Regions from separate parts of the Homo sapiens genome. Here all the other regions are linked to region 2. Evidence: promoter capture Hi-C in human tissues and cell types (Jung and others, 2019). All regions are on one chromosome and are shown on one strand. Each heading gives the region's core, a stretch centred on a gene start or on the middle of the fragment in contact. The rest is flanking DNA. Distances are from core to core; before and after follow the strand shown. Region 1 holds the start of LINC00207 (long intergenic non-protein coding RNA 207). Region 2 holds the start of PARVG (parvin gamma). Region 3 overlaps LOC124905132 (a long non-coding RNA gene). Region 4 overlaps LINC00229 (long intergenic non-protein coding RNA 229).

Region 1 (5,882 bases), core at 3,259-5,758, 390 kb after region 2:
CAGCACCTCGCCAAGATCATGGCAGCCATCCGGGCCCAATATGACGAGCTGGCTTGGAAGAACGGAGAGGAGCTGGACAAGTACTTGTCTCAGCAGATTGAGGAGAGCACCACAGTGGTCACCACGCAGTCTGCCAAGGCTGGAGCTGCTGAGATGACGCTCACAGAGCTGAGATGTACAGTCCAGTCCTTGGAGATCAACCTGAACTCCATGAGAAATCTGAAAGCCAGTTTGGAGAACAGCGTGAGGGAGGTGAAGGCCTGCTACACCTTGCAGATGGAGCAGCTCAACGGGATCCTGCTGCACCTGGGGTCAGAGCTGGCACAGACCCAGGCAAAGGGACAGTGCCAGGCCCAGGAGTATGAGGCCCTGCTGAACATCAAGGTCAAGCTGGAGGCTGAGATCGCCACCTACTGCCACCTGCTGGAAGATGGCAAGGACTTCAATCTTGGAGATGCCCTGGACAGCAGCAACTCCATGCAAACCATTCCAAAGACCACCACCCACCAGAGAGTGGATGGCAAAGTGGTGTCTGAGACCAACGACACCAAAGTTCTGAGACATTAAGGCAGCAGAAGCAGGGTACCCTTTAGAGAGCAGGAGGCCAATAAAAAGTTCAGAGGTTAAAAAAAATAAAAGAACTCTTACAACTCAATAATTTTAAAAATCCGGCTGGGCGGGGTGGCTCACGCCTGTAATCCCAGCACTTTGGGAGCCTGAGGAGGGCGGATCACCTGAGGTCAGGAGTTCTAGACCAGCCTGGCCAACATAGTGAAATCCCCTCTGTACTAAAAATACAAAAATCTAGCTGGGCGTGGTGGTGCATGCTTGTAATCCCAGCTATTCAGGAGGCTGAGGCAGAAGAATCACTTGAACCTGGGAGGTGGGGGTTGCAGTGAGCAAAGATCACGCCATTGCACTCCAGCCTGGGTGACAAGAGCAAAACTCTGTCTGGAAAAAAAAAAAAAAATTAAAAGTTCCCAAAAATGGGACAAAGATTTAAACAAACACTTCACCAAAAAAGATACATAAATGGCAAATAAGTACATAAAAATCATCTTCAACACCATTAGTCATTGGGGGAGGGGAGTACACATTTTAGTCACAGCAAGATACCACTACATATCCACCAGAATGGCTAAAATTTAAAGACCCTAACAAGTGTTGACAAAGATACGGAGCAACTAGAATGCATACATTGTTGGTAAGAATGTGAAATGGTACAATTGCTTTAAAAATCAATATGGCAATTTCCCGTAAAGTTAAACAAAATTGCTGTGACCAAACAATTCTATGTCTAGTTATTTATTCAATTAAAAAAAAAAGCAAGCACATGTCCACATAAAAACTTGTACAAGAATGTTCATAGCACTTTTATTTGTGATAGCCAAGAACTATTAAGAACTCAAATGTCCGTCAAGAGGAGAGTGGATAAATATTCCATTCTAAACCATGGAAGATCATTTAACCACAGAAAGGAGCAAACCCCTGAGGCCTGCAATACATGGATGACTCTCAAAAACATTCTACTAGGTGACAAAGCCTGATATAGAAGAGTATGTGCTGTGTGATGTCATCTATATGAACTTCTAGAACAGACAGGGCTCCTCTATGCTGATAGAAATCGGAACAGCACGGCCTGCAGGGGATGGGGAGGACAGGCGATGGAGACGGGGATCAGATGGGAGGGTGACCTGGTGAGAGATTTTCCAGCTGGCAGAAATGTCCTCTACCTTGAGGGAGGCGTGTGACATGGGAGTAAGTTTGCCAAAATTCATCAAACTGTGCTAAGATCTGTGCACTTCACTGAATATAAACGTCATTTAAATGTCTACTTCATTTAAAAAACAAAGAAGCTGATTGGAAGTGCTGAGCCCTTGGGTAGCGTTTTCTGACTGCGGTCTCCACTGCAGGTGATCTGGCGGATTGCTTCCCCGGGGGGTCACTGGGGGTCAGAGTGTGAGGATTTCCACTAGGAAGGTCAGTGGAACTGACCCCAACCAAAATGATCCCCCAGCTCCCCCCTGCTGCACGTGAGGCCTGGCTGCCGGTTTTCCGGGGGCTGCAAGGAGAAAGAGGCGGGGGTCTCCAATACTCAGTACATGCCCTGCTTTTGGAGTGGCATCCCCCAGTCCAGAGGCCTCTGCCAGACCCTTTCTTGATAATAAATCTTGGGGTTTCTGCCAGGCTCAGGGAGGGGCAATCTCCCAGTTGTGTAAGCAGTGGGAGTGGATAGCTGTCTCTGTCTCTGTCCCTCCCGTGAGAGGAAGACTAACTGCTGTTGTTTGAAACAATCCTCCTTCACTCCCCTCCAGAAATATCTGGCATCTCCATCCTCCCAGCCCATTGTTGCTTCTCATCTTTGCATGCTGCTGGCCGGCCATGTTTCAGCTTCTCAAGCTCACCTAGTGGGTTACGGCTCATCCACCAGGTTTCCAGTCTCCAAAATGTTGGTGCTTGGGCCTCCTCCCCTTTTCTCTTTCTGCTTGAGGGTAATGTCCGTAAAGTGATCTTTACCATCATTTTAGTGAGGGTTCAAGAAGAGGCAAATGTACATGTGTGCATCTGTGCCACCATCTTTGTCAGAAAGTCCAGTCTTTGCACCTTTTATCCTCATGGTTGCAATGTGGCTGCTCCTGCTCTGGGCATCAGATCCACATTCCAGGCAGGAAGAAGGGTGTGTGCCCCTGAGACCATCCCCTTTTATGGGAAATTAAACTGGCAGACTTCCTCTTATGTCCATGGCCACTCCTAGCTGCAAGGGAACCTGGTAACACCTATTTTTAAGGGGGCAAACTTTCACTCCAACAAAACAGGTTCTGTTTAAAGAGGAGAATGGATGGTTACACATCCTGCTTGGGATCCAATCACTGAACCAGAGGGGAACACCGTGCATGATGGGCTGGTAAGGCGTGGGGGTCAGTACAGCATGACACAGAAGGTGAGCTGGCTCCTTGAGGGAAAAACAAAGTGCTGGCCCCAGAGGCAAGGAAGGGTTGCTGGCGGGCAGAGAGGACGCTGTCCGGAGCCCACAGTAGATTCTCCTTGATCATTCACTCCCAGTTCCCTTCCTGCTCCTAGTTCAGTCCCTGACTCCTCTTCTCAGTGCTGTCACTGTCCCTGTCCTGGGACCAGGGTAGGGGATGGGAGGAGAGGTCTGCACGTTGCTGAGCCTTGTGGAAAGGTGACCGTGGACCTCTGGGAGGATGATCTCATCACTTTCTGAAGGAGGCGTCGAGCTGAGATGCTAACAATAGCCAAGCACGATGCCGGCCTGATTGGAGAGGCTAAAAAAAGCAGCTCATTCCAAAGCCTCATCAGGGAAGAAAAGGGCCACGAAGGCAGGTTTGCAGGGCTTTAGGGAGGAGGGGGAGAGGGATGCAGAGGGATGAACTGAGTGGCCTGAGTCTCAGCACAGCTGTGGCCATGGGCTGCCTCCATGTCCAGGAACACCAGGTCTGCCATGCACCACCCACCTGCCCCCATGTTTGCACAGGGCACCGGGGAAGACCTTCAGCCCTACTGGGCTACCCCTTGAGTACCCTCTCCTCCCACATTGGAAGGTCTTCTGCTTCCTGGAGCTTGGCCTGCCTCGGGAGGAGGAGAAAATGGTCCATGTCCCCAGAGAGCCCATGATGTGCCGGCCTAGGTGAGCACTCTTCGCACCTCATGCCATGGAACTTTTGCCACAGCCCTACCCACTTTACGGATGAGGAAATGGAGGCTCGGGAGATGAAGCTGGCAGACTTCCTCTGGAACTTCCTCTGGACATCTGGAGGGACGTCCTGTCAGCAGAGCAGGCTGGACTGGTGAGTTTCCTGCTGCTGGGAGTCCTGGCTAATGTGTTCAGCCCCCACTGACCTCTCTGTGCCCTTGATGTTTTTGAGCCTCATGGTCTGCCTCCCACCAACATCTTCTGTCTCCTCCCCCATGCCCCAGTGGCAGCTGGTGTAGAGGGTGGCAAATGACAACCTCAAGGCCAGAGAGGACCATAACATGCCCACAGCCACACAGCCAGTAACAGGCAGAACTAGGGCTGGAACCCACATCGCCTGCCTTCTGGCTTCTTCCTTACACCATAGCACAGCAGAGACAGCATCAGAGGCGAGGCTGGACAGGCCAGCTAAAGGAGGGTGCTCGGACCCTGCCCCATGGCCAGCAGCACCATGCCTAGCTTTCCGCCATAAGCCTAGAGAGAAATAACGAGGCCCGAACTTATCTGCACTGAAAAGGCAAAGTTACAAATAAAGAACGGCTTCAAGCCCGATGATTGGAAACTTAGCTGCGTTGCCATCTGTCGCAAATGCCACCGCGTTCTTCGTAACCCCCGATGACAATTTCCTCTTCATTTTCAGCTTCACAAAGAGGATGCAGCCCCACCTCCCAGCGGGAGTCAGTTCTGCTCTGAGACGTGAGGCTCAGAATCAGATGAAGACTCCTGCTGCTGCATCTTGAAGATAATGATGCTGTTGCTCCCGGCTGGAACCACAGCAGTGGCGATGAGTGAACAGCCAGCAGAGTGGAGCGGCCACACTGATACAGGTGAGGCTCCAGCACTGCCGCAGCCCAGGGCCAGGCAAAACCGCCTTCCTATCCCCCGGGAGCCGAGGCCTCCGAGATCGGCGCTGGGAGGTCGCACAGTGCAGGCAAATCACACGGACCTCAGAGCAGGGTCCCTGGCCGTGAAAACTCAAAAGACACAGTCTTTAAAATAAGGACAGAAAACTGTATTTAGTGCCACAATAAAGCTGTGTCACAAACTACCCAAAACTTGGAAGCTTCAAATAAGTGTTTATTTGACTCACAGTTCAGCAGTTTCAGCTGGGCTCTGTGGCGCGATTCTTCTGGTCTTGGCGGGGCTCACCCACGTGTCTGGTGGGCGGCTAGCTGCTGGCAATGAGCCTGAGTGCTCCTCACCCTCCCAGGCTGAGCTGGGTGTGTCCTCGTGGCAATGGCAGAGGTGCAGGAGAGCAAGCAGAGGGTACACAGCCCCCCGAGACTCAGCTCAAGGTGGGCCACAGCCACTTCCGCTTTGTCCTGTTGACCAACATGGATCACAGGGCCAAGCCCAGAGTGAGAGGTGGGCAGGCCAACCCAGCCCCGGTGAAACGGGCAGCTCCAAAGAAGGTGGGAGAGTGGGGCCATCAGTGTGACCTAGCGCCAATGCCTGTCCCCAGGGCTATAATCTGGAGGATTAAGTGAATGAAGGGTCATGAAAACACCTTATGAACAAGTGCAGAGGTCTCCCACATCCAGTCACCAGTGGAGGCTGCCTTGGTGAGTCCAGGTGCCATCTCTGCACCGCGTCCCAGCCTTCAGCCTCTGGCCCTCTGGGCCGGCCTTCTCAGAAGAGTCAGCTTGCTCATGCTGAAGCACAATTCTGATCATGCCACTTCCCTGCTTTAAGCTCACCCACAGCTCCCCACTGCCCTCTGGGCCTCTCTGATTCATCCTGGGCTTGCCTCTTGGGCCTCAATGTCCCCTTTTATCCCCTGCCTCAGGGCAACACCAACAGAATGGGACCTATGCTCTCTCCTGACCATGGACCTTTGCACAGGCAGCTCCCTTGGCCTGGAATTTTTGCCTCTTATTATTTCTTTCTCTTTTTTTTTTTTTTTTTTTTTTTTGAGGTGGAGTCTTGCTCTGTCACCAAGGCTGGAGTGCAGTGGTGCCATCTCAGCTCACTGCAACCTCCGCCTCCTGGGTTCAAGTGAGTCTCCTGCCTCAGCCTCCTGAGTAGCTGGGATTACAGGCGCCCGCCACCACACCTGGCTAGTTTTTGTATTTTTAGTAGACACGGGGTTTCACCATGTTGGCCAGGCTGGTCTTGAACTCCTGACCTCAGGTGATCTACTCACCTCAGTCTCCCAAAGTGCTGGGAT
Region 2 (6,305 bases), core at 3,806-6,305:
CACATATTCTTCCAGTCCCCAGCCCCTCGGATTTAGGTGGCCATGTGGCTGGTCCTAACAGCCGGGACATGGTCACACCGGACAGCTTTTAGGAAAGACTGTCACCTTAAAGTATGCAACACCTTTGTGGATGTTTGGTGTGTTTTCGAAACATCCACACAGGGTTCTGATGTTCTCGATGGCTTTGGAATGTAGTGCTAGATTTCCTCCCACAATCTCATTCTTAAAATGTATTGCCAAGGTGAGCCTGAAACACTGTGCCGGAAAGCAGGGAAGCACAGTTGTCCCTGGTATCCTCTGTGGAGTGAATCCGGGACCCTGGAGGATACCAAAATCTGAAGATGCTCAAGTCCCTGATATCAAACTGCACAGTATTTGCATATAACCTACGCACATCCTCCTGCATACTTTAAACCAGCTCTAAATTACTTATGATACCTAATACAATGTAAATGCTATGTAAATAGTTGTTACACTGTATCACTTAGGGAATAATGACGGAGAAAAATTCTGTATGTGTCTGGTACAGATGCAATTTTTTCTTGATATTTTTAATTCGTGGTTGGTTAAATCCATGAATGTGCAACCAAGGATATGGAGGGCCAACTGTACTCAAGGAATGATGGGGACATGTCAAAAGGACAGAGGCACAAACAGCGTCCACATTTTGGATACTTCAAGCATCTGAAGGAGCAATGTGGAGTATAACACATTGGATTTTTTTTTTTTAATTCGTGCACTTAGAGTGATATTAAACTAGGATGAGAGCAAAGGCTTTTTTTTTTCTTTTAACATTTTACTTTTATATAGTTTCAAACCCGCAGAAAAGTTGCAGGAATACTACAAAGAGTTCCTATGTGTATTAATCCATTCTCATGCTGCTAAAAGAGACATACCCAAGACTGGGTAATTTTAAAAGGAAAAAGGTTTAGTGGACTCACCGTTCCACATGGCTGGAGAGGCCTCACAATGATGGTGGAAGGCGAAGGAGGAGCAAAGGCATATCTTACATGGCGGCAGGCAAAAGAGTGTGTTTAGGTGAACTGTCCTTTATAAAACCAACCAGTCTCATGAGACTTATTCACCATCATGAGAACAGCATGGAAAAACCCGTCCCCATGATTCAGTTACCTCCCACCAGGTCCCTCTCATGACACGTGGGGATTATGGGAGCTACAATTCAAGATGAGATTTGGGTGGGGACATAGCCAAACCATATCACTATGTTTACCTGGAGACTCATGAATGTTAACATTTTTACTTTATCCTCTTCACTCTCTTTCTGTCCCTGCCTATCTGCCTCTCTCGATATAATAATAATGATATATATTTCTTTAGACGCACACATTTACCTGGTGATATATATATTTTCTGAATCTTTGAGGGTAAGTTGCATGCATTATATCCTCTTCACCTCTAAATACATCAGTGTAGCTTCCTAAAAGTGAAGACATTCTCTTCCATAATCTCAGTATGTGTCATAATCAGGAAATAACATTGATACAATGGCATTGTCTAATCTACAAACCTTAATTGTGTTTTTTTCCAATTGTCTCAATGATGTCCTTTATGCCAAAATAAGAGGCAGGACAAGGCATTGAATGAGTTGTCCCATCTCTCCAGCCTCCTGTAGTCTGGAGTGGCCCTTCAGTCTTTCCTTATGTTTCATAGCCTTGATTCTTTGGAGAATCCAAGCCAGTTATGTTCCAGAATGTCTTGCAGCTTGGATTGATCTAGTATTTTCCTCGTTATTAGATCCAGGTTATGCGTTTTCGGTAGAAGTGATGTGTTCCTCTCAGCGCATCATTACCAGGAGACATGTCATGTTGATTGTTTTACTTTCTTATGATGTTAATTTTGATTACTTAGCATGTGAGCACACGTCTGTGGTCCCAGTTACCCAGGAGGATCACTTAAGCCCAGGAGTTCAAAGCCGCAGTGAGCCGTGATCACACCACTGCACTCCAGTCTGACAGAGTGCACTGTTTCTATTTTTAAAAAATATATATTACTTAGTTAATATAGTGTTTATCAAATTTGTACACTAAAAAATGTAACTCTTCTTTGTAATCGATCAATATTTATGAGGAAAGAATTTTCACTTTTGGAGTTACCTTTCCATCAGGAATAACTAGAAGCCTCCACAAAACACAGGAAACAGTTACTTCAGACATTGGACATGCCTTTGCTCCCCCTTCACCTTCCACCATGACTGTGAGGCCTTCCCAGCCATGGTGGAACTGTGAGTCCATTAAACTGTCTTTCTTTATAAATTACCCAGTCTTGGGTATGTCTGTTTTAGCAGCATGGAAATGGACTAATACACATAGGAACTCTTTGTACTTTCCTGCAGCTTTTCTGTGAGTTTGAAACTATATAAAAGTAAAATGTTAAGAGGCGAGTCAGATCTGTGATCCCCAAGAAAAGGGTGGCAAGTGAGGTGAGCCCTACCCTGGTCTTGGCTTTCTGCCTGGACATAATTCCTGGACTGTGCTGTAGTGAGGGGGACCCAGACAGAGCCAGGTCTCACTGATTTAAGGAGACAAAGATCAGAGCTTGCAGAGATTACGCTTATTAAAAACAGACATCAAAAGAATATTTCTGCCAGAAAAATTCCAACACTTCTTAAAGAAATGCAACAAAATTCAGCACGCGACGACATAAAAATTTAATGTCTAGCATTCAATAAAACATTATTATAAAGAAGCAGGAAACTGTGACCCACAATCGGGAGAAAAATCAGTCCACAGAAGCAGACCAGGAAATGACAGAAGTGATAGATTCTACAGGACAACTGACCTGGATGTTTAAAAAATGTTAGTGTCGTGAAAGATTGTTCTAGATTACAGGGCTCTAAAGAGACATGAAAACCAAATGCAATCACATGTGCTGTGTGATGCCTGAATGGATCTTGGATTAAAAAAAATACAGCTGTAATAGACATTTTTTGAAGCCTTGGTGAAGTTTGAATGTGGATGAGATATTAGAAAACCTTCTATCAATGCTAATTTTCTTAGGTATCATAATGGTACTGTGTTATGCAGGAGAATGTTTTTAGGAGAAACATTCTGAAGTATTTAGAGATATCCCTAAAGTGATGTGATCCCTGCAATTTATTTATTTTTTATTAATTTTTAAAAATTTTAGTTGTGGTTAAAAATACACGTAACATAAAATGTACTGTCTTAACTATTTTTAAGTATACAGTTCAGTAGTGTTTGGCATATTTGCACAGGTATATTTCACACCGTGTCTCTGAAAAAAAAAAAGGCTGGAATAATTCCCTTCTATCCATGCCTTTCTCTTAATTGGGGTTTGGGGGTGCTTGGACTTATCTCCATGTTACTCTTCCAATTCTTAGAGTCCCTCTCTTCCCCTAAACAATGCTCTACACACAAGAGGCTTTGTGAGTTGTGGATTTAGTCTGTTGTAACTCCACACCATACAGGATTAGATTTCGCATCTGATTCTTACATCAGCCCTGCAGCCCCAAGAGATGAGAGATAGCTTTGAGGGCTATCAGAGAACTCCCTGTATTCTGCACATACCTTGAGCTGAGAATGTAAAGCCCTGGGACTGTCCTTTTCTTGCTTTAAACTCTTTGGTGTGATGATAACAAGCTCACCCCACAGTCCTTAGATAACCTGTGCTCGTATTGCGTATGGAAGCCACAACTCTGCCAAAGCCACAATTTAATAGGTACTTCGTTCTGAGTGATGACAGGTAATTATTTTGCCATCACAGGCTACGATCTATTAGAACTCCATTCTCTAACAGTTACTAGGTCCCCACTGCCTTTAAATCAACCAGAACAAGTAACCAATCCCAGTTCCCATCCTGGAGGTCGTGTTGCCTGCAATTGTTTCTGGTAACAAATCCGAAGTTAATTGGGATTCAGTTGCCGATGATTAGAGTCTCTTCAGTTGTTTGGAGGAGAAAGGAATCTAACATAGGAAGCTGTGTGATTCTCAAGCTGTTGGAAGGCTGGAGGCAGCGCCTCCAGCAAGGACTCTTGGAAGAATACTGCAGAGCTGGCTCCTGAAGGAAGCTGCCGAGTCAGGCTGGCCCTAGAAGCATGCTTTCTGGGTTGAATGCTTTAGGTTCACCTCTGCAGATCCACTCCCCACCATTTTCTCTCCTCACATCTATGGGCCGCAGCAGGGGACTTCTTTTCTCTGGCTTCTGGCTGGATGTGGGCAGGGGAGGCCCTGGCAGGAGGGAGGAGAGTGAGGCTTGGTCATTGATTCCTCCAGCTGTGCCCTTCTGCTGGTTCACCATGAGCTGGCTGTGTCCCTCTACCAAAGGCCACAGCTCCTATCCCGAGGCCCCTCTTAGAGCTTCAGTGATTCTGTTCCTGGGCTCTGCCACCCACTCCCTCCTTCACCCTCTAGGTTTTGAAGAAGTAACAGCTCCCCATGTTGCTAGCCTGGGGTGTAGCACTGTCTCTTCTGGGTTCCTTTAACCCTGCCCCAGCTGTCCCTTTATTAAACAGTCTTCAGTTAGCACATGGGAATATACCGTCTCTTTGCTGCTGGGACTGTGACTGCTGCTACATCTATGTGGCTGTGATCCAGAGTCAGAAGCCACCACCAGAACCACTGTGTCCAGAGCTGGGCTGAGCCTGCTACACACGCCCCAGCAAAATAGGTCCTGCACGGTGGCTTCTCTCCCCACCTGTTACAAGCCCCAGTCTAGCACGGGCACTTCAGAATGGCAGGGACTGACTCATGTGCCTCAGTGTCTTCCTCTGTAATATGGGGGTGATGATTGTACCTACCTCACAAGGAAGTTTCCAGTAAAATGAAAGCCCTTAAAATTATGTTTGTTTCATCACCAATGACTCCATAAATATTAGCAACAATACCAGTACTAAGTTTTGTCATTTTTTATTAACTTCTTGTAAACGACCCTACTTTCCTGCTCTCACACACTCCTTACACCTGCATCCCACCTGATTTAGCCACTTTCTGCCTAACCTGTCAGAAAGGGTAGATAGCTTCCCAGTCACCTGTTGCTAGGGAAACTCACCATTTCAGCCCGGATGGTGAAGATTCCAGCTTGAGAGACCAGCTCGGGTCTGAAGTGTTTCTCTATCTACTGTGCTGAGATCTCTCCTTCTCGAACCCTGCTATGCCTTTGCATACGCTGTTTTCTCCACCTGCCACGTTCTCACCCCTTCTTCTTCCACTGCAAACTCCTATGCAGCCGTCAAGGCCCCATTCTCCTCTGGAAAGCCTTCCCGATCCCCTTGGCAACAACCACCACCAATATTTATTCACTGAGCCCACTTTGTGCCAAGCATTGTTCTAGACACGGGTATGTAACCGCGATTGAGAGAGACAGACCACGCACAGCCTGGATTTTATTTTAAGAGCTATTGGGTGCCGTTGGTGGGTTTGAGTGAGTGGGGTCAGGAAGTGACTCACTCCTCCGAGGGCTTGTGGGAGCCTCAGCTCAGGGGCGGGCAGGGGGCGTGGGGAAGTCTGCAGCCGAGAGTCCAGGTAGGAGTCTCCTGCGTGGTCCCGGGAGAGGAAGGGGCCTGGCCCGGGGCGGGGTGTGGAGGTGGGAGGACGGCGGTGCGGGATGGAGGGTGGAGGCCAGGCTGACAGGGTGCTGGTGGTGGGTTGCGGGGGTCGACCCCAGGCTCTGGCCTATGTAGCTGCCATTTTGGAGGTGAACAGCCTGCGGGGAAACTGGCATGGTTTGGGGAAGGCGGGGAGAGGGGGAGAAATGAAAGCATTGAGTTTAAGTGGCCTGCAGAACCCCGGGGGCCCAGGCGGCACGGCGGGCGCTGGGGCTCCGGGCAGAGCTTTCTGGAGGTTTGTGGCAGCTTCACTTTCACGGCATCCACCCCCCTCGGGCCCTGCCGCAGAGAGGAGGAAGCTCCTGCCGGCTGAGCGGGCCTGGAGGAAGTGAGCAGCGGGGCTCCTGCCTCCCGGCCTGGTCCCCGAAGACCCCAGAAGAACCCGGAACTTGCTTCCATTCGGAATCCAGGGACCACCCTTTGCACTCAGTAGGCCTTTGTTTTCCTGCGTGGAAAGCGGTTGGGTGAGTTCTGGCATCGGGGCCACCATACTTGAGTGTTGGGGGTCACGGAGGGAGGGGCCCAGACACCACCTGGGAAGGATCCCAGAGTGCAGTCCCAGCCCAGGCCACCCGGGGAAGGGAGTCGGTAAAGTGGGACCTTGAGTCCCCACGGCCCCTCCGGCTGCCCCTGCTCAGAGGCTGCTCGGCGTCCTCCCTCCCTGTTCTACTGAGGAGTTGCCGCCTCTGAACTTCAGCCAACCCCTCCGTCTCCAGGTGAA
Region 3 (5,960 bases), core at 1,553-4,052, 480 kb after region 2:
ACGAGTGTCCCATGAAAGGTGCCCTGTGGGCACAAATGTGTGTAAAACTGTAAAGCACATGCTTCAGGTGGGTAAGCACCTCCAGGAGGATGGAGCAGTGTTTGCCTGGGGAGGAGCCCATAGGGGCTTCCAGGTTCCAGTTCTGCCAGTGAGTGCTGGCGACGCTGGTGAGCTTGGGTGAGCTTTTTCCACATTATTCAAGTTCTTTTATACAGATAATATTCTTTGTAACATTTTAAGCACTCTATGGAAGGAAAAATAATCTCGAAGCACCCAGGCAATCTCACAGCCCGGGAGCTCTGGATGGAAGGCCGTGGAACAGGGGTCCCATCCCGGGCAGAGAGGCTGGGTGGCAGAAGTCCCAGGCTCCAGTCACAGCCTTGCCGGGTATCCTGGTTTCTGGTGGCCGCTCTAACAAATAGCCACAAACTTAGAGGCTTAAAACAACACAAATTTTGGCCAGGCATGGTGGCTCACACCTGTAATCCCAGTACTTTGGGAGGCCGAGGCGGGTGGATCACTTGAGGTCAGGAGTTTGAGACCAGCCTGGCCAACATAGGGAAACCCCATTTCTACTAAAAATACAAAAATTAGCTGGGCGTGGTAATCCCAGCTACTCAGGAGGCTGAGGCAGGAGAATTGCTTGAACCTGGGAGGCAGAGGTTGCAGTGAGCTGAGATCACACTATTGCACTCCAGCCTGGGCAACACAGCAAGACTCCATCTCAAAAAAAAAAAAAAAAAAAAAAAAAAGAAAGAAAAGAAAGAAAAAAAAGAAAAGAAAAGAAACCCATAAATTTCTTCTCTTACAGTTCTGGAGGCTGTGGTGTGGGTGGGGCTGTGCTCCTTCAGGGGCTCTAGGAGAGAATCTGGTCACTCATTGCCCTTCTGGCTTCCAGAGGCACCTGCATTCCTTGGCTTGTGGCCATTTCCTGCAGCTTCAAAGCCACAGAGGTGGCATCTTCCAATCTCTCTCTGTTCCCATTGTCATTTCGCCCTTTTCTCACTCTGACCCTCCTGCCCACCTCTTATAAGGACCCTTGTGATGATGTCAGGCCCCCTGGGAGAATGCAGCACCTTCTCCCTATCTCAAGACCCTGATTCACATCTGCAAAGTTCCTCTCGCCATAAGGAGTGCGTGAGGCCACAAATTCACAGGCTACAGGGATCAGGACATGGAATTCTTTGAGGAGAGGGCCATTATTCTGCCTAACACATGGTGTGGCCCTGGGTTAGTCACTGTGCACTGTCGGGCCTGTCTCCCTGACTATGGTGACAGGGGACAGGGTAGGGTCCAGGGGTGCCCCCCAGTGCACAGAGCCCTCAGACAAGTCAGGTTTTCACTCAGTCCTTCAATGGCACCAAAGGCCCTCTTGGCCTAGGCTACACAGGGGCAGTGGTGGGAGGTACCCAGACGCCCCCATCAGAGAACTACATTTCATACAGGGCTTTAGATTCACAGAGCTCTTTTCTTAGCTGCAGGCTATAAACAAAGGCTCATTAACTATGTTTTAACGGCTCCATCCACCAATGGATAGGCAAATAAATGAAAGGATAAACATGTGAAATTAGCAAGTGCAATGGTCCCCATTGCAGGAGCAAGGAGCCTGGGGTCCCTCAAGAAGGGACTCAGCCTTAGTATTCAAGCTGCAGAGCCTGTGCCCTCTCCCTCCGATACATTGCCACGGTGCCCCCCTCGCCCTCAGGGTGTCAGGACGGTCCTGGCACGTGGTGGGTGCTGGCCACATCTGCTCACTCAGAGAAGAAGCGAAGGAAATGTGAGGTCAGGCCGCCACTGTGGCTGGGGCAGGGGCCTCACTTGAGCCTCCCAGCAGCTTCCCACAGTCTCACGTGACTGAGCAGCAGAAACACACACAGGCTGGGTTTCCTGCCAGGCCCCAGAGACATGCTCAGCTCTCACAGGGAGGAAGAGGCCAATGGGCTCGTGGTCACTGCCAGAGCTATGACAGGCACCCGCGTGCCTTTGAGGGGGTCCAGGTCTCAGCTGCCTTCTGGGTCACCTGAGGCACCTTCATGTTGACCCCAGTCCTGGGCCCCTCAGAGGAGAAGAGCTCAAAACCCTCTGAAAGCCAGCAGCATGGGCTCCAAGCCAGGGAGCCTGGGCTCAACCCTGGCTCTGTCAGGACTTGCTGTGTGGTCCTGGGCATGATGTATAACCTCTCTGAGCCTCAGTTTCCAATTCTGTAGAGTGGCAACAATAATATCTATCTGTTGGCTGGGCACGGTGGCTCACATCTGTAATCCCAGCACTTTGGGAGGCTGAGGCGGGCGGATCACGAGTTCAACAGATCAAGACCATCCTGGCCAACATGGTAAAACCCGTCTCTACTAAAAATACAAAAATTAGTTGGGCGTGGTGGTGCACACCTGTAGTCCCAGCTACTCGGGAGGCTGAGGCAGGAGAACCCCTTGAACTCAGGAGGCAGTCGTTGCAGTGAGCCGAGATCACGCTATTGCACTCCAGCCTGGTGACAGAGCGAGACTCCATCTCAATAATAATAATAATAATAATAATAATAATAATAATGATATCTATCTGTTACAGTCAGGGTCCCAGCAGAAGGCAGAGCTGACCAGGTGGTTCATGTTCACAGAGGCGTGGGCAGGTTAGGGAGAGCCAGAGGCCAGCAAAAGAGGGAAGCTGCTACCAGCCCTGGGGCTGCAGAAGGGAGGGAAGGAAATGGTGCTTCCCCCGGAAGCCAGTGGAGCTAAAGCCTGGCAGAGCATCCGGGAAAGAGCTGTGGTCAGCATGCAACCCGCAGGGACTGCAAGGGTCAGCAGAGGGCAAGAGGAGAAATGCCTCATTCTCTCCGGCTGATCTCCAGCAACTGCCTCCATGGGTCAAATGTAACCAGGTGGGGGATGCCGTCCACCCAGGTCAGCCTCAGGGAGCACAAAGTAGGCAGTGAATGGATCTGGGGAGCAGGGGGCGCCACAAATGACGTGGCCAGAACCACGCACCATGGGGTCATGTATTCATTTACTCACTGATTCTTTCAACAAATACCTATTAGCCACCTTCTAATACGTGCCAAAGACTGTTTCCAAACACCCAGAGATACTTTGGGGAAGAAAAGAGACAACTCTCCTCTCTCTCAGGGAATTCATGAATTTCTGAATAAACTACACCATAAAGAAATAACCAGCCGGGCGCCGTGGCTCACGCCTGCAATCCCAACATTTTGGGAGGCCGAGGTGGGAGGATCACCTGAGGTCAGGAGTTCAAGACCAGCCTAGCTAACATAGTGAAACCCTGTCTCCACTAAAAATACAAAAAATTAGCCAGATGTGGTGGCGCGCGCCTGTAATCCCAGCTGCTCGGGAGGCTGAGGCAGGAGAATCGCTTGAACCCAGGAGGCAGAGGTTGCAGTGAGCCAAGATTGTGCCACTGCACTCCAGGTTGGGCAACAAGAGTGAAACTCCATCAAAAAAAAAAAAAAAAAGAGAGAGAGGGAGAGAGAGAGAGAGAGAGAGAGAGAGAGAGAGAGAAAGAAATTTAATGAACATTTTTTAAAAAAAAAATCCAATTAGAAAATAGGCAAAAGACATGAACACACCTACCACTCATAGGATTTACAGATGGTAAATAAGCTCTCAAGATCGTTTTGAATCTTTAACATCAATAGTCGTTAGAGGAAGGCAAATTAAAACCATGAGATCTCACTACACACCTATCAGCATGGCAAAAATAAAACACAGGGACAAGACGAAATGCTGGTAGGGATGCAGAGAAACTGGATCACTCAAGCTTTGCTGCTGGGAAGGCAAAGTGGTACACTCTGGAAAACATTTTGGCAGTTTCTTAAAAATCTAAACATGCAACTCCCATACGACCCAGCAATTACACTCCTGGGCACTCTTCCCAGACAAATGAAAACTTATGTTCACACAAAAACCTGTACACAAATGTTTATAGCAGCTTTATTGGTAATAGCCCCAAACTGGCAATCAACCCAGATAGTCTTCGACAAGTGAATGGCTAAACAAATTATGATGCACCCATTCCATGGAATGCTGACCACTCCACAATAGCAAGGAACAAACTACTGAAACACAAAGCAACCTGGAAGAATCTTCAGGGATTTATGCTGAGTGAAAAAAGCAATCTCAAAAGGTAACATACTGTATGACTGCATTTATATAACATGCTTGAAATGATAAAATTACAGAAATGGAGAACAGATAAGTGCTTGCCAGGAGGGAGGAGGGAGGGAGATAAGCACATAAAAAGTCCACGGGGGGGTCCTTTGCTGATGGAATGTTCTGTACCTTGATGGCATCTATGTCAATATCCTGGTTGTGATATTGTAGTATAATTTTGCAAGATTTTACCAGTGGAGAAAACTGGGTCCAAGACATCTCTACTGTTTCTTATAGCTGCATGTGAATCTACAATTATCTCAAAATAAGAAAGTTTAGGCTGGGCGTGCTGCCTCACACCTGTAATCCCAGGATTTTGGGAGGCCCAGGCGGGTGGATCACCTGAGGTCAGGAGTTTGAGACCAGCCTGGCCAACATAGTGAAACCCTGTCTCTACTAAAAATACAAAAATTAGTCGGGCATGGTGGCAGGCACCTGTAGCCCCAGCTACTCAGGAGGCTGAAGCAGGAGAACCACTCGAAATCAGGAGGCAGAGGTTGCAATGAGCCAAGATGGCACCACTGCACTCCAGCCTGGGTAACAGAGCGAGACTCGGTCTCAAGAAAAAAAAAAAAGAAAGAAAGAAGGAAAGTTTAATTAGAAGTGGGGGAGGTCCTAGTGGTCACACACCAAGAGGCTGGATTAGATGACCTCAAAGGTCCCTCCAAGGCCAGGACATCCCTCTTGGCAGCACGGGGCTCAGAACAGCTCCACCTCCTTCTGGCACCTCTTGGGCCGTTTCCAGCCCCACCCCAGTACTCGATCCAGGCACTGTCTGCCCAGTCTAGATGCCACCCAGACACTTTAGGCCCCTCTGTCCAGATGCCCTCTCCTCCCTCTAGGATGCCCCATCCTGCAGTTCAGGCAGAGCTGCTCACTCCCAGGGCCCTATGGACCCCATTAGAGTACCTGGGGTCTGGCCGGGATGCTTGCTGTCCTGAAATCTGGTCACCAGGAAGGCCGGCCATCTGATCTGCCTCATGTCAACACTGTTTCTGGGGGATGAGTGGCTTAGCGTCAAACAAGCACAATGATGGAAGGGGAAAAAAAAAGCTTTACAACTGAATATGGACACAAATATTTGCACAATTGCATTCTAAAACATTAAAACAATCACTACACCAAAACACAATAACCATAACCATCACCGCCCGAATGCCCACAGCCTGGCCTCTGGTACAGGACTTGCGGCTTCTACCAGGCACTGACTGTCAATCCTTTCGGGGATTCCTGGGACAGACACCACTGCTCCCCGCCCACTGCCCCCACCACAGCCACGTACCAACGGAGAGGTACTTAAACAGGGTGAGGCTGTTTAAGTGAAGAGTGAAAAGAAGCCCTTTTCGAGACACTGGGGTGTGGGATGTGGGTTGTGGGGTGCAGGATGTGGGGTGCTGGATGTTTCCACCAGGGCAGTTCTTCTCAAACTTTACTGAACTCTGGAACCACCCAGAAGGCTTGTTAAAATAGGGGGCCCAACCCCGAGTTTTGCTTCTGTAGGTCCGGGGTGGGGCCAGGGACTCTGCACTAACGGAGGCCACACTTTGAGAACCACAGCCCTGGGCTGTTTTTGGTGCCAGGCCCATTCGTCTTCCCCTCCCTCCCCGCTCCGCCCGCGGCTGGACCCCGATCCCCGGGACAGGGACTGAGTCTGACCGTCTGATTTGTCCTCCCGGCTTCTAGCGCCCCGCTCAGGTCGGGGCTTGGGGAGGGGGCGCTCTCTGGACGTTTGCGGCCCGCCGAGGGGTGGGGTGAGGGCGTCACGGGCCGATCCGGGCCGCCGGGTGACCCGGGACGCCC
Region 4 (6,427 bases), core at 593-3,092, 440 kb after region 2:
AGTGGCTCATGCCTTCAAACCAAGCACATTGGGAGGCCAAGGCAGGAGGAGCCCTTAAACCCAGGAGTTTAAGACCAGCCTGGGCAACATGGCCAAACCTTTTCTGTACAAAAAATGTTTTAAAACCTTAGCCAGTGTAGTGGTGCATGCCTGTGGTCCCAGCCACCCAGGAGGCTGAGGTAGGAGGATTGCTTGAGCCCAGGAGGTTGAGGCTGCAGTGAGCCATGATTACACCACTGTACTCCAGCCTGGGCAAAAGAGTGAGACTCTATCAAAAAAAAAAAAGAAAAAAAAAAGAAGAAGCTAACCTCCAATGTGATAGTACAGTATATGGAGGTGGAGTGTTTGGGATGTGATTAGGTTTAGATAAGGATGGGGCCCCTGTGATGGGATTAGTGGCCTTATAAGAAGAGGAAGAGACACTGTAACTGCCCTCTTCCTCCTCCTCCCCTTCATGCTCCTCTCTCTCCCTCTCCCTTGTGAGGACCCAGTGGCCATCTGCAAACCCAAGGAGAGAGCCCTTGCCAGGACCTGAATCCACCAGCCCCTCGAAGTTGGGCTTCCAGCATACAGAATTATGAGAGATGAACATCCTTTGTTTAAGCCCCTAGTCCATGTTATTTCGTTCTAGAATCCCAGGCAGGCTAAGTCTACACAGCAGGAAAATGTTGAAGCCAAGTAGGAACCCAGAGGTCTGGTTTGCAGAGCTTTAACCGTGACGACCCCATGCTCATTTTCCCAAAGAAGACTCTAGAAACCTGAACCCGCTCCCCCCATCAACTCCCTGCTGCCCCAGCAAAGGGCTCCAGCTGCTCTGGATGATGTGGAAGCCAGGGCGCCATTGACATTTTGTGCAAGGTAACTCCCTGTGGTGGGGCCTGACCTGTGCATCGCAGGCCCCAACCACGCCTCTGGCCTCTACGCAGTAGCGCCAGCAGCCCACCTCCCCACAACTGTGACAACCAGAAATGTCTCCACACGAGTGTCTCCTGGGGGGCAAAGTCGCTGTGCTGAGAACCGCGGCTGCATGGGAAGTTGGCACACAGCCGGGAGAGTCGGCACCAAAGAGGAATAACAATTAAAGCGGCGATAATAAATGCAACAATAACAGTGACTGTAGAAACAACAATAATTTTGATAATCACAACCATAACAAAAGTGATCGCAGTAGCGGGGATAGCACCACGCACAAACTCACAATGCAACAGTAGGGATAATAAACAGCATGACACGGCTAATGACAGCACTAGTGTGGGGGTTTGCTGAGAGTGGGTGCACTGGGGTCCTGTCTCTCCAGCCCCCTGTGAAGACCCAGTGGCCACCTGCAAACCCAAGGAGAGAGCCCTTGCCAGGAACTGAATCCACCAGTCCCTCGAAGTTGGGCTTCCAGCATGCAGAAGAGGGCAGTTATGGTGTCTGAGCCAAGCTCAGAACCCTCCCCCCCGTCTCTCCAGCTCCCTGTCCCTGTGGAGGTGACTTCACCCTCTCTGAGAACAGGATCCTCCTCTATAGGTGGCCAGGTGGGTCAGCTGAGGTCATCCCTGGAGAGCACTCAGCCAGGGGCCCGGCTTCCAGGGAGTATGGTAAATGGTCCCTGCACCTCCCGGGGGGGATCTGTGCCCAGGGAAAGAAGAGGTTTTTGCCCAGGCCTGCAGGTTGGGCCCTGAGCATCAGGAGGGATCTGAGGATTCTCCCTGGTGCTTGGTTTGTCTCCAGAAGGAGCCCAGGACTCTGGAGACTCGGGTTCCAGTGACTCTGCCCACACCTGGCTATAGGACTCGGGCCAGCCCCTCCACCTCCAGTCTCGGACAGAGAATGGAAAAACGAGCTCTGACCTTTAGACTGACCTCCAGTCCTGCTGTCCTTGGAGCCCTCTCCCTTCTGGTCAAGTCCTCTTTTTTAGGGACACTTCTCCCCAGCCCCGCTTATGCCCAGAATGGCCGGTGACAGGCCAGTGTAGCCACAAATCCACGGGGAGCCAAGCTGGGGGTTCTCCGTGTCCCTAGTAAATGCACCTCCCTTGAGCAGTTTCTCAACAGGAGGACTCCCAGTGCCTGCTAAGGAAACAGAGAGCCAGGCCACCAGGACACCTTAGAGATCAAAGGCCACCTGTTCCTAATTAAGCAACAAAGTCGCCCTCTCCACATCTTAGCACTGCATGGGGTGCCCACGCTGGCCCCACAGCTGAGGCTCCCGGTCCCCACCCCATCAGTCCCCAGGTGCAGACACAGGCGTGCCAGAGCCCAAGTCACCGGGCCACCTGGGAACCTTTGCTACCCGCTCTTCTGCCCGGCAAAGGAATGGGAGGAGGAAAGTGTAGGCAGGGAGGGCTTCTGACCTCTGGTTCTGGAACCTTCCACCCAACACACCTGCACACCTGCTCACACCCGTGAGCCAGGAAACAAAAGTCGGGGCAGGAATGACCAAGATCAGTCAGGGAGGGAGGCGGCCAGGATGAGCCCCCACCCAGGCCAGCCCGGGAGGAAGGGAGGCAGGATGACTCCCCACCCAGGTCAGCTTGGGAGGGAGGCGGCCAGGATAAGTCTCCACCCAGGTCAGTCCGGGAAGGAGGGAACCAGGATGAGTCCCCACCCGGGCCAACCCGGGGCCCCTCTCCACACGGCCACTTCCTGTTCCCAGAGGCCCTGAGACTGCCACATCCACCCTCCCTGCCCCACACATGCACCACCCACCAGACACACTGACACACCACACACATACACACAGGTATGCACACACGCACACACGCACACACACACCACTCCACACTGGATACACACACCAGACAGCCACACCACACGCGTACACACAGGGGCATACATACACACACACACACACCAGACACACATTCACCACACAGAGACACACCACACACGTACACACAGGCGCACACATACACACACACACACACCAGACGTACATTCACCACACAGACACACCACACATATACACACAGGCATGCACATCCACACACACACCAGACACAGATTCACCACACACACAGACACACCACACATGTACACACAGGCGCGCACATACACACACACACCAGACACATTCACCACACACACCACATACACACACCAGACACACACACACGACACACACAGACACACCATACATGTACACACACACACACCACACAGGCACACCACACACGTACACACAGGCGCACACACACCACACCAGACACATTCACCACACACACCACATACACACCATGCCAGACACACACATGACACACACATTCACCACACACACAGACACACCATGCATGTACACACACAAACACCAGACACAGACACACCACCCACGTATACACAGGCACACACACACAACACACCAGACACATTCACCAAACACACACACCACACACACACATACCTCACACACACCACACTGGACACACACACAACACACACATTCACCACACACAGACATACCACACATGTACACACACACGGCAGACACAGAAACACCACCCACGTATACACAGGCACACACACACACCACACCAGACACATTCACCACACAAACACACACACACCACACACACACCACACTGGTCACACACAACACACACATTCACCACAGAGACACACCGCACATGTACACAAAGGCACACACAGCACACACACACCACACGCACATGCACAGCACACATGCCACATAAACACACACCAACCACACATGTGCACACACACACCACACACAGCCACCACACACACCACACACCTCATGCACATACCACACTCATTCATACACACCACACACACACCACACACCTAGGCGGAAACACTGGCACACGCATTCACACCCAGATGTACTCAAGCCACACACACACTTTCCAGCACTGGGTGCAGCAGTGAGGAGCAGCACGAAGCTGTGCCCAGCAGACAACAGAAAATTAAGGTGACACGACCATACTCTACGAAAGGAAAAAGGCACCCTGTCCCTTCAGCCAGGCTGGGCCAACCCGGACCAAGGCTGCTGTGCACCCATCCTCCCCCCAGCACCCTGGGGAGGTCCAGACGCACCCACCTGCCCCAGCAGAGCAGCCTCACGTGCGGTGTCCGGGCTCCCCGAGGCCCAGAGCGCCCGTGGCTGGCCTGGGGCTGCTGGACGGCGGCTTCTCCAGGTGCAGAGGGAGAAGGGAGGGGCAGAGGCAGGGGCAGGGGCAGGGGCGTGCATCCTGCCTCCCATGCTGTGCCCGCACTCCTGAGGGGCAGCCGCAGCTTTTGAATTCCCTGGGGCTACAGAGAGGTCTGGACTGGAGAGTGCAGACAAACAGACGGACAGACAGACCGACAGACAGATGGACAGATAGACAGGGCTCCTGGGCGGGAGCTGGGGGAGACGCAGGGGGCCTCTCTGGGTGGATTTCTCAGGGGTGGGGGCTCCAATCGGCCAATACCCTTTCTGGGCAGCCCACCGAAAGTGTGGTGAGGTGTTGGGTGTGGTGGAATTTCAAGCAAAGGGGCCTGTGGAGTGAGTGTGTGGGTGTGTGTATGTGGTATATGTGTGTGTCTGTGTAAGGTGTGTGTACTGTGTAATGTGTGTGTGTATGTAGATGTATGTGTGTCCATGAGTGAAGGAGCATGGTATGTGGTGCGTGGTGTGTGTCTATGTGCGATGTGTGTACTGTGGAGTATGTGTGTGTGTGAGTGTGTGATGTGTGGTGTGTGTCCGTGTGAGGTGTGTGTACTGTGGAATGTGTGTAAGTGTGTGTGGTGTGTGGTGTGTGTGTGAGGTGTGTGTACTGTGGAGTGTGTGTGTGTGAAGTGTGTGTGGTGCGTGGTGTGTGTCTGTGTGAGGTGTGTGTACTATGGAGTGTGTATGAGTGTGTGTGGTGCGTGGTGTGTGTGTGAGGCGTGTGTACTGTGGAGTGTGCATGTGAAGAGTGTGTGGTGTGTGGTGTGTGTCCATGTGAGGTGTGTGTGCTGCATGGTGTGTGTGTGAGTTGTGTGTACTGTGGAGTGCGTGTGTGGTGTGTGGTGTGTGTGTGAGGTGTGTGTACTGTGGAGTGTGTGTGTGTGAAGTGTGTGTGGTGCGTGGTGTGTGTCCGTGTGCGGTGTGTGTACTGTGGAGTGTGTGTGTGTGAAGTGTGTGTGGTGTGTGGTGTGTGTCCGTGTGAGGTGTGTGTACTGTGGAGTGTGTGTGTGTGTGAAGTGTGTGTGGTGCGTGGTGTGTGTCTGTGTGAGGTGTGTGTACTATGGAGTGTGTATGAGTGTGTGTGGTGTGTGTGTGAGGCGTGTGTGCTGTGGAGTGTGCGTGTGAAGAGTGTGTGGTGTGTGGTGTGTGTCCATGTGAGGCGTGTGTGCTGCATGGTGTGTGTGTGAGTTGTGTGTACTGTGGTATGTGTGTGAAGTGTGCTGCATGGTGTGTGTGTGAGTTGTGTGTACTGTGGTATGTGTGTGAAGTGTGCTGCATGGTGTGTGTGTGAGTTGTGTGTACTGTGGAGTGTGTGTGGTGCGTGGTGTGTGTGAGGTGTGTGTACTGTGGAGTGCGTGTGTGTGTGGTGCGTGGTGTGTGTCTTTGTGAGGTGTGTGTACTGTGGAGTGTGTGTGTGAAGTGTGGTGCGTGGTGTGTGTCTGTGTGAGGTGTGTGTACTGTGGAGCGTGCGTGTGGAGTGTGCGTGGTGCGTGTCTGCGGGTACAGGATGAGTCTGTGGGTGTGGTGTGCGTGCCCACGGGGGTGGGAGAAGCCCAGGGGTGAGCACAGGGTCAGCGCTGTGACGGGGCCCAGGCCGCTCTCAGTGACGCCCGCAAAACCCCACGTGGCGGGAACCAGGCTCAGCCACACTGGCGGGGTCAGCAGAGCCTGTCGGTGCAGGCGGCGTTCCCGGAAACTAGGAGGCCGCTGTGACCCCCAGACGTGCAGACCTGCTGAGGGTCCAGCGCTGCGGCTGGGCGGGGTCGAATTGTGTTCTGGGCAATGCTGGTGTCACTTAAAGTGAAATACACAAGGGGCGGACGGGCGGCTCCCGGGCTCCGGGTCCTTGGCCTGGACCTCGGCCTCCCCAAAGTGACCCCGGATGGCACCGCGAGTCCCCGTTTCCGACAACCACACGGCGCCGGCTGCACACGTCCTGTTTGCGTGGTTGCTAGGAGGTTGCCATGGCGACTAATCGGGGATGAGGGAAGCCTAGCGCTTAACACATCCCCCTCCGACGGTCAAAATTGGGCCTCTCTGGCAGCTGCTCCTGGGATCACAGCCGCCCACGCAGGGCCTGGGGATGGCTGGGCCCCCACAGACCCTTCCAGAAGCCGACACACCGGGGGATGATGGATGAACAGGAGCAGAATGGGTTAAGGATGGAGCGCAAACACAAACGGGATTGGGCCAGGTGGCCCGGAAGTGCCTGGGTCCCCAGATGGCTTGGATCCGTGTCTGTGGGTCTGGCGGGCCCCTCATGTATGCCGGCTCC

The links. The method cuts DNA at HindIII sites, captures the fragments that hold promoters and counts their contacts. A contact is called where the count stands out against the background at its distance.
Region 1: a contact is called between a fragment that was not itself captured here and the fragment with the promoter of PARVG in region 2, in 1 of the 25 tissues and cell types used here (small bowel).
Region 3: a fragment that was not itself captured here is called in contact with the fragment with the promoter of PARVG in region 2 in 1 of the 25 tissues and cell types used here (lymphoblastoid cells).
Region 4: a contact is called between a fragment that was not itself captured here and the fragment with the promoter of PARVG in region 2, in 1 of the 25 tissues and cell types used here (dorsolateral prefrontal cortex).

Annotation. Positions count from the first base shown.
Region 1 is chr22:44,567,684-44,573,565 of GRCh38, forward strand. It overlaps LINC00207 (long intergenic non-protein coding RNA 207), which reads left to right and starts at 1,657. Exons shown (of 4, transcript NR_028411.1): 1 at 1,657-1,758; 2 at 2,817-2,905; 3 at 3,693-3,809; 4 at 4,356-4,766. It also overlaps the pseudogene KRT18P23. The HindIII fragment of the contact is 7,273 bases long and covers 873-5,882 here.
Region 2 is chr22:44,175,870-44,182,174 of GRCh38, forward strand. PARVG (parvin gamma) reads left to right here and starts at 5,056. Exons shown (of 14, transcript NM_022141.7): 1 at 5,056-5,316; 2 at 5,873-6,048. RefSeq lists silencers at 4,317-4,366, 5,537-5,666 and enhancers at 5,043-5,773, 5,774-6,305. The HindIII fragment of the contact is 25,740 bases long and covers 1-6,305 here.
Region 3 is chr22:44,662,515-44,668,474 of GRCh38, forward strand. It overlaps LOC124905132 (a long non-coding RNA gene), which reads right to left. Exons shown (of 3, transcript XR_007068127.1): 1 at 5,817-5,960; 2 at 5,070-5,155; 3 at 1-2,485. Among named protein-coding and RNA genes, the nearest start is that of PRR5, 37 kb to the right of the region's middle. The HindIII fragment of the contact is 3,376 bases long and covers 1,115-4,490 here.
Region 4 is chr22:44,614,437-44,620,863 of GRCh38, forward strand. All of the region lies in intron 3 of LINC00229 (long intergenic non-protein coding RNA 229), which reads right to left. Among named protein-coding and RNA genes, the nearest start is that of LINC00229, 7.8 kb to the right of the region's middle. RefSeq lists enhancers at 3,667-4,168, 5,270-6,034. The HindIII fragment of the contact is 8,753 bases long and covers 1-6,219 here.